Regions from separate parts of the Homo sapiens genome. Here all the other regions are linked to region 2. Evidence: promoter capture Hi-C in human tissues and cell types (Jung and others, 2019). All regions are on one chromosome and are shown on one strand. Each heading gives the region's core, a stretch centred on a gene start or on the middle of the fragment in contact. The rest is flanking DNA. Distances are from core to core; before and after follow the strand shown.

Region 1 (2,700 bases), core at 39-2,538, 1.5 Mb before region 2:
ACTTCCTGTGTGAGCCCCTTGCAAAGTTTGCTTGCCCTAGGCTTGTCCTTCTCTCTACCCCTGAGTCCCTATGTTTGGACTCCTCTCTACACAGCAACAGGCTGGGGGATTCTCTTTAACCCACCAGCAACTGTTCAACCTGGCGCATGGGCAGGAAAACTCGAGATTAAAGTCTGAGAACCTGGAAGGGATTGTCAGATCCAACCCCATCATTTCAGATGAGAAAGCTGAAGACCAGCGAGAGGAAGAAACTTCTCCTGTTAAAGCACACTGGATGAAGACGTGCTCCACTCCCAACCTCCAGAAAAAAATCACTGATAGAGTGGCCTCCACTGTTCACCAATTTTGCCTTTTTATATGATAGTTTTCTTTCCTGAGAGGGTTGAGAATCCCCATGCAGTGCTCTTTCTGGCAAGGGCATCATACTTGGCAGATTTTACCTTTATTATCGGGGAAAACTGGACAGTCACGGGGAGCTGCTCCCCTTCTTTTGGACTTGGAAACAAAAGAACCTCACTGGGGAGGAGTTCCTGAGGAGAGGAGTGTAAGTTGGGGTGAAGGGAGTGAAACCCTGGGCTCCCAGGGGAAGAAGAGTGGGCCTTCGGCTGCCTTTAAGAGGCCTCTTGCCCCTCCCCTGCCTCATAAGGAATCTGAAACGTTTAAACCCCAGAGGCTGACTCAGTAAGAGTCATTTGCATAATATTTTAGAGTGATTTAGCCATGCGCTCGACATGTGGCTGATTTAGCTATGCTGGGCTTGGTGGTCATAAGAATAGCACTGGTTCTGACCGACACATCCTCTATCTCTCTGTCCAATGACCCCAACCCTTGCTTGGGCACTTACTGTTTGTCAAATTTGGACCAATCACCTTACTGTGTGCCAGTGTCATGCTAAGCTCCAGGAATTTGAAGATGAATCCAACCTGTGGCCCCTTGGAAAGTCAGGTCTGAGACTTGGAAGTAGGTGTCTGTTTGGTGGGGATCACCCAAAGATCAGCCCATGGGTGTCCCTAATTTGGACAAAGAACCCTCCAAACTGGACCCATCTTGGTGTGCCTGCCTGCATGACCTATTTTTTAAGCTGCAAACAGCTAGCATTACCTGTTCTCAACATCTGGCATTACCTACCTTCTTAGTCACCTTCCCTCAGGCTTCAAACAGCTGTAGGGCCCCACCTCCTATCCATCTAGGGTCCCTCCCTCCCCTTTTTCTTCCTGAAAGGATCTGGAGACACCAGCTCCACAAGTCCTGGTGTCTTTAAAAGGATCAGCTTGAGGAATAAGGCTCGTCTGAGAGCTGTGACATTCATCTGACTCTAGTGAAAGTCCAACAGCCACTCCCTTTTTGGCCTCCAACTGGGCACCATGAGGGCCTGCATCTCCCTGGTATTGGCCGTGCTGTGTGGCCTGGCCTGGGCTGGTAAGTCACTATCTGGCGGGCATGGGATTGCTGGTGGGGCGGGATCTTGCCTAAAGAAGCAGAGAGTTGGAGAACTTGGTAGAGGGCAGGGCCGTGGGACAAGGGAGGGTGAGCTCTGTCCTAAAGCCGCAGAGCACTTTTGGGTTGTCCTTGTCTGAGGGTGCAGGCGTTGGTCCCGGAATGGACTGGACTATGTGGAGAGAGTTGCAGGGCTGATGGTCTGATTTCATGGAATTCCCTTCTTGACACCTTGGAGGATCAGCCCCAAATATCCCTTAGTCCAGCCTGACTTTTGATCTCCCCAAGATTTTGTTGTCTGGGGCCACTGTAAGGAATAAAGCTAGGGCTGGTGTCCATGGGGTCTGAGTGGCCTGGCTGCCCTTGGTCACTCCTTCCACTGCCTGGTGACAGGTGAGGTTGTTTAGGGTGTGATGTTACTTTGGGTAGAGCCTTAGGAGGTGGGCAGGCTTAGGAGGAAACTGAAAGGACCTTTGACCAGGAGGTGGGCCTCGTCCTATCTGGGGCTGTACAGGGGTCAGAGGAATGGATCTCTGTTGCAGTGTTAGGAGAATTGAAGAATACAGAAGGGACCTGGCCCACAGTTATGAGAGGTCCAGGGGATGGGACTGGCAGAGGAACAGGACCATGTTCCTGTTTAGTAACTGTGCAAAATGCTGGTGCTGATGGGTTAATTGGTAGCTAGTGGGTGGGTGGGAAGGAGTGCCAAGGGAGGGGCTGAGCTGAGGAGTGTGGGGAGAATCCTCCTCTGCCCACAGGAGAAAGAATCCTTCCACTGGGTTGCTCCTGTGTAGGACTGTGGAAAGGATTAAATGAAATAATGTATGAGAAGCACCTGGTGCAAAGTGAGATCTCAGTGAACTGGAAATTCGCTATGATTATGACTATAAATTTTCTTGGGAGAAACTTCCGCTTGGGGTCATTTCCAACTGGGTTGTGGAAAGGAGACCCTTATGGGATTTCTAAGTGGAAAACCCCTGGAAGAGGAAGTTGTGCCTCCCAACCATGGATGAGATAGTGCATCTTACCAGAAACCAGCTCTGCCTGGGCCCTAGTGGGTGGAGAGGCAGTGGGAGAGCATGAGGGTGGGCCTGGGAGCCACCAGCCTCAGCCCTGTTGGTTGGGAGGAAGGTGGAACTTGGGGGCTTAATGTGTAGGGGTGGCCAGCGGGCTTGGCATATTCCAGCCTTAGGGAAGGAGAGCAACTCTGGATATTTGGTCCCTGGGGGGCAGAGGTAGCAGTGGCTTTAGAAGTGCAGGTGG
Region 2 (2,700 bases), core at 1-2,500:
TATCATCTTGCTTTTCCAGTGGTGATGAAAAAGCAAAATTCACCCAAATACAATGACTACTGTCTACTTGAAACGCTCCAGGTAGTTAATTTTTGAATTATGATTCACCTTCCCTTTCCTGTTTTGATGAACCATGAACAGGAGACTGAACCTTCCCTATCAATAAAAAGCTCGCGTTTCCACCCTGCAAATTCGCGCTATGACAGTCTAATTGGCTGAGGCGCAGGTGGGATTTCCTGTCGCCATTTTAAGACACAACTCCTCTGCAAGCAAGTGCCCAGCCAGTGAAAGGGGGCTGTGTCTGAAACAAAGAGTAAGCGGGAAAAAAGGGAACCAGGCCCAGTTGCCCCTGCTCCCCTCCATGCCGCTCCCTCGTCCCCCGGACTTGGAGCGCCCCAGCTCCGTTAACCTGGACGCACCAGGTCCTTCGGTCGGGACCACGTGGGGTCTCCAGGCCCTCCAAGAGCTGGCCCCCGGCTCTTTGCGCCTAGGCCGGTGCTTTCTCGGTGCTCAGCAAATCCTTCTGGTTCACCTCACACCCAGTCCCCAAAGCAGAGCTCCACAGGGCAGATCTCAGGAAGGGCTGACCAGGTCTGCGGGTGCTGGATCCGGAAGAGGGGAGGTGCCTCCCGCTTCAGGTTAGGGACAAAGGGTTTTTAAAGGTGCCCGAGCTCCCCGCCGCCCCTGCCACTTCGGTCCCCTTCCCGCCAACCCGGGCCATCTGCAGGCTGTGCCCAGGGCCAGCCCTCCGCTCCAACGCTGCCCGTAGTCCCAGGCGCTGCCCGCGGCTCTCCGGGCTGCGCTCGGACCTGCCACTCCCGCGGCCATCCTCATGCTGCGCCCTTCCCACAATGCAACTCCCTCGCTCCTTCGGCCCCGGCGGGGCTCTGGCGTACCCAAAATGCAGGCCCCAGCGGAACGCACAGCCCTCCTGTCCTCCGCCGGTGCCCCTTTAGCCGCCCCACCCCCATCCCTAAGGGCTCTCATTCTCCAGCTGCAGCCGCAGCTGGGTTCCGAACACGCCGCCGGGCCCCGGGAGGGAGAGGGGCAGGTGCCAGGGCGGCGCGCAGCCTCTGCTCCCGGTGCCAGCTTCAGTGCGCCGGGCACACGCGCGCCCCGCAACCCCTCCCTCACCCTTTCCCCGTTGCTCAATCTCCGCCAGCCGCGGTCGCTGCATCGTCAGAGAGCTGCAAGAGGGAGGCAGCAAGGTGCGGCCGCCAGCAGTGACACCATGTGACCGGCACGGCTCACTGACACGCAGCTTTGGTTAAAGAGCGGGCGCACAGGAGGGGAGGAGACCGCGCGCGGGACGGGGAGGAATGGCCTGTCCGCGTTAAACCATCACAAGCCATGGTTGCGGAAGGGCCACGCGTCCCCCAGTAGGAGAATGACTCCGATTCGTGACCCTCAGCGCCGGTGCATGTCGATGTAAGTGCGAGGCCGGCGAGCAGAGTGTGAGTGGGGGTTGGTGGTGAGGGGAGATTCTGATGCAATCGGCCCGGAAAGGAGGAGAGCCAGGCGAGCGCGGACTGGGGCGGCCACGCCACTCCGCCAGAAGGTCGCCAGGAGCCTCCGCCCTTCACCTTCCTCCGAAATCCGCCAGGCCACGCCAAGCTCCCTGCCCAACCCTTACTGACGGGGGCCACATTTTCCCGGCCTCCGCAGCCAGACCTTGACACAAAGGACATCAAACTGCCGAGGGTAAAAACCCCGGAAGGGCGGACACCTCCACATCGCCTTTTGCCACCTTTCCCTTTATTTCCGGAGGTAAGGTGATTATCCGTTCCCGGGGAGGGCTGGGCGAGCGGCAAGGGGAGATTTAGATGTCGGAGGAGGAGGTAACGTAGAAATCATCTCTGCGGGCGTGAAAGCAGAGAGAGCTCGGCTGTGCCCGATGCTTTCGGATGTTGCTTTTAGGAGAGGAAAAGTCCAGGTCTCCTGTGCTTCCCGAACGCACGCGGCAGCGGGAGGAAGCGCCAGGGCCCCCGAGTTCACCTTTGCGTGGGCTGTGGCTTACTTTTTGGTTTGTTTTCCTGTGACTTTGGTGTGTTTTCCTGTGGCTGTGGCAGAGTGTGGTACCAGATCTGGTTCCATTTTTACGAGAGCCAGGAACCACGCACGTCTGGAGGGAGAGCGCAGCTGACCCGAGGGCGCGACCGTGTTCTGGGAGTGTTTGAATCCCCGGCCTTTGGTGAAAATTTCCTGTGTCCGCAAGGCCCAGAGGAGATCGTGTGATGTCCGGGGGGTGCTGCGTGCGGCCGGCTGGGTAGCGGCCGCGGACCACCACTAAACCGGGGCATGTTTGCCGTCCTTCCTGGTGCTCTGCCCCTCTGTAACGCGGGGAAGTAGGAGGGCGCGGGGAGAAATTACTAAAGGATGCTTGCAGTGACTCACTGTCCTTTCCTGCCCTGAAGAGGATTTTCTAAAATGCAGAGGGTGGCAGGGGACAGAGGTAGTGTTTTTTCGAGAGCCGGGATGTGCTGGAGCCAGCGAACAAAAGGCCACCTCTTGCGCGGTCTTGGGCGCAGACTGCTCTCGCTTCCAGTCCCACCTCCTCCCCAACCCCCGGCACCTAGTTCGCGTCCCTAAACGTTGCCGCAGAGGCCTTTAAACGCGTGGGTCGGTGCCGGGAGGAGAGCGCATCTTCGCCCTTGTGCGAGCCCCTTGCCCCCTAAATTATCCACCTCCTGGCGCATGGGG
Region 3 (2,700 bases), core at 38-2,537, 1.0 Mb before region 2:
GAGTTCATGTTCCTGGGAAAACAAGACTGAGCACTGAAAACTTAGCAAAGACACTACATTCTCTGCTTATTTAATGGATGATAAAATTCAATTCAAAAGTAGAGAGCGAATCATTTTATTTATTAAATTTCTCATGGGAATTTTCATATTTAATGATTTTTAAGCCAATAAATGGCTTTATTTTTCTAGTAATACAACATGTGGTTAGGGCGGGAGGGGGAGGAGGTTGACTAGGAGCTACTACTACATTAGAAACGAGAGTCTCAGAAGCCTTATCTTAGTCAATATGCAGATCTTGGCAGTCACTGAGCTGCTACTTCAGTTTTTTCATCTGTAAAAAAGCAGCCAAGAGTCCAGGGCACCCACCCCATGGACACATTAACTGTGAACACTGCCAGAACCATTTTTCAATACTGTAATTCTCCTCCTGGTCAGTTTTTGCTCCTAGACAGCTGACAACACGTTTCCTTCCATGGCCTCAGTGTAACTTTTAGATGATTCGCTCAAGCTCATAAACTGACTCAGTCTTACCACCCAACCTCATTTCTCTCCACCCATTGCCAGGATGAATTCTCACCTGTGGTAATGCTCTCCAGCTGGAGGCCACCAGGAACACACTGTATAGGTTGAGTTTACTACTCACAGCCAGGGCAAGCACACACCATGGGGAGCCCTGGGGTGTCTCAGCAAAAGGGTGTTAAAAAAAAAAAGATTTTTTTTTGAGACAGGGTCTTGCTCTGTTGCCCAGGGTGGAGTGCAGTGGCACAATCGTGGCTCACTGCAGCCTTGCCCTCCCAGGTTCAAGTGATCCTCCCACCTCAGCCTCCCAAGTAGCTGAGATTACAAGGTACATACCACCACACCCAGCTAATTTTTGTATTTTTTGTAGAGATGGGGTTTCACCATGTTGCCCAGGATGGTCTCAAACTCCTGGGCTGAAGCGATCCACTCTCCTCGGCCTCCCACAGTGCTGGGCCACTATTTTGGGTCTAAAAAGGATTTGAGGGAGAGTCCAAGGAAGCCAGGCTTTGCTCTGCATTGACTACTATTAGGAAGCTGGGGTAATTCTATGATCAGTATGTTATTTATAGGGAGGGCAGACTAGAGGGAAGCTAAAGCTGCAATTAGTAAATAAGCAACTACCATTCATATTAGCTGAGAGGGAGGATGTTTAGTATTTTGTGGCTTGGACAAGGCTCATGTTTTGTCAGGTTCAGGCAGGAATGCCAAGTGGTCTTGCCTTTATCTTGATCCATCGTAGTCACGGTGTGGCCTTGTCTGATATTGATGTTCTGTGAATTGTTTCCCTTCCACAGAGAACACCAAAGTCTAGCTGTTGGTTCCAGGCCAGCTCAGGGCAACACTGAGGGCTACTGATAGTACCAGGCCAGCTCCTGGATGTCAGGCCTACTTTTCTCCTTAGCAGAGAGGGTCTCCTTGCTATCCTCTGACCATGCTACCTCACGCCAATCCCCAAAGCCAGGAATAGGTGAGGTAAGTAGGGCAAAACACTTGGGAAGAATTCACACTTGGGCACCAGCCCTGTGCAGGCATGGCCCTGAGAGGGAGTGGCTCTGCAAGTTTTGTGCATAACTCCCTTCGCTTGCCTCACCTCTGTCCCACTCTACACAATCCTTTAGTCTGGTCTCTGCCCTTCCTTCTTCATTCTCCCACCCTAAATCCTACCCAACTTCCTCCCAAGATCAGACACAGCTTTCCCTTCTCTTACTGGAAATGCTGCTCTCGTGATCACCATAAGAAGAGAGGTTCAGGCCGGGCATGGTGGCTCACGCCTGTAATCCCAGCACTTTGGGAGGCCAAAGTGAGTGAATCACCTGAGGTCAGGAGTTCGAGACCAGCCTGAGAACAACATGGTGAAACCCTGTCTCTACTAAAAATAAAAATTAGTCAGGCATGGTGGCACGTCCTGTAGTCCCAGATACTTGGGAGGCTGAGGCAGGAGAATTGCTTGAACCTGAGAGGCGGAGTTTGCAGTGAACCAAGATTGTGCCACTGCACTCCAGCCTGGGCAACAGAGTGAGACTCCGTCTCAAAAAAAAAAAAAAAAAAAGAAAAGAAAAAAAGAGCCTCTAAAAAAAAGAAGTGAGTTTATCCAACTCACTATAGATCTTAGCCTGGCTGGTTCTTTTTCAACATTCACATGTATTAAATGTGCCCCTGAGATAGGACTTCCCAGCGCACCATAGCTAAAATACTGGACACCCACCCTCAGTCATTCTCTCTCTTTACCTGGTTTTATTTTTTTCACCCATTGATAACTATCTGAACAATTTTTATTTGTTTACATGTTATTTCATTTCTTTCTTTCTTCTTTTTGAGAGAGAGTCTCGCTCTGTCACCCAGGCTGGAGTGCAGTGACGCAATCTCAGCTCACTGCAAACTCCGCCTCCCGATCTCAAGTGATTCTCATGCCTCAGCCTCCTGAGTAACTGGGATTACAGGTATGTGCCACCACGCTTGGCTAATTTTTGTATTTTTAGTAGAGACAGAGTTTTGCTATGTTGGCCAGGCTGGTCTCGAACTCCTGACCTCAAGTGATCCTCCCGCCTTGGCTTCCCAAAGTGCTGGAATTACAGGCATGAGCCACCACACCCAGCCTGTTTACGTGCTATTTCTTTGTCTCTACCAGCACCCCAATGTTAGTTCTGTGACATAGGCAAGTATTTGCCTGTCTTTTCT

Evidence for each region. Contacts are between HindIII fragments. The study calls those that stand out against the background at their distance.
Region 1: a contact is called between the fragment with the promoter of ENDOU here and the fragment with the promoter of SLC38A1 in region 2, in 1 of the 25 tissues and cell types used here (stomach).
Region 3: a fragment that was not itself captured here is called in contact with the fragment with the promoter of SLC38A1 in region 2 in 1 of the 25 tissues and cell types used here (spleen).

What each region holds. Positions count from the first base shown.
Region 1 is chr12:47,724,078-47,726,777 of GRCh38, reverse strand. ENDOU (endonuclease, poly(U) specific) reads left to right here and starts at 1,288. Exons shown (of 10, transcript NM_001172439.2): 1 at 1,288-1,419. The coding sequence starts at 1,365. The region is part of intron 3 of RPAP3-DT (RPAP3 divergent transcript); the gene reads right to left. RefSeq lists a silencer at 654-773. The HindIII fragment of the contact is 12,082 bases long and covers 1-2,700 here.
Region 2 is chr12:46,267,593-46,270,292 of GRCh38, reverse strand. SLC38A1 (solute carrier family 38 member 1) reads left to right here and starts at 1,250. Exons shown (of 17, transcript NM_030674.4): 1 at 1,250-1,767. LOC105378248 (a long non-coding RNA gene) reads right to left here and starts at 1,222. Exons shown (of 2, transcript XR_001749101.1): 1 at 1,135-1,222. RefSeq lists silencers at 701-800, 881-1,060 and enhancers at 1,471-1,570, 1,621-1,670, 810-1,792, 1,791-1,850. The HindIII fragment of the contact is 6,474 bases long and covers 1-2,700 here.
Region 3 is chr12:47,279,645-47,282,344 of GRCh38, reverse strand. No RefSeq gene overlaps it. Among named protein-coding and RNA genes, the nearest start is that of PCED1B-AS1, 65 kb to the right of the region's middle. RefSeq lists a silencer at 1,065-1,359. The HindIII fragment of the contact is 4,624 bases long and covers 1-2,700 here.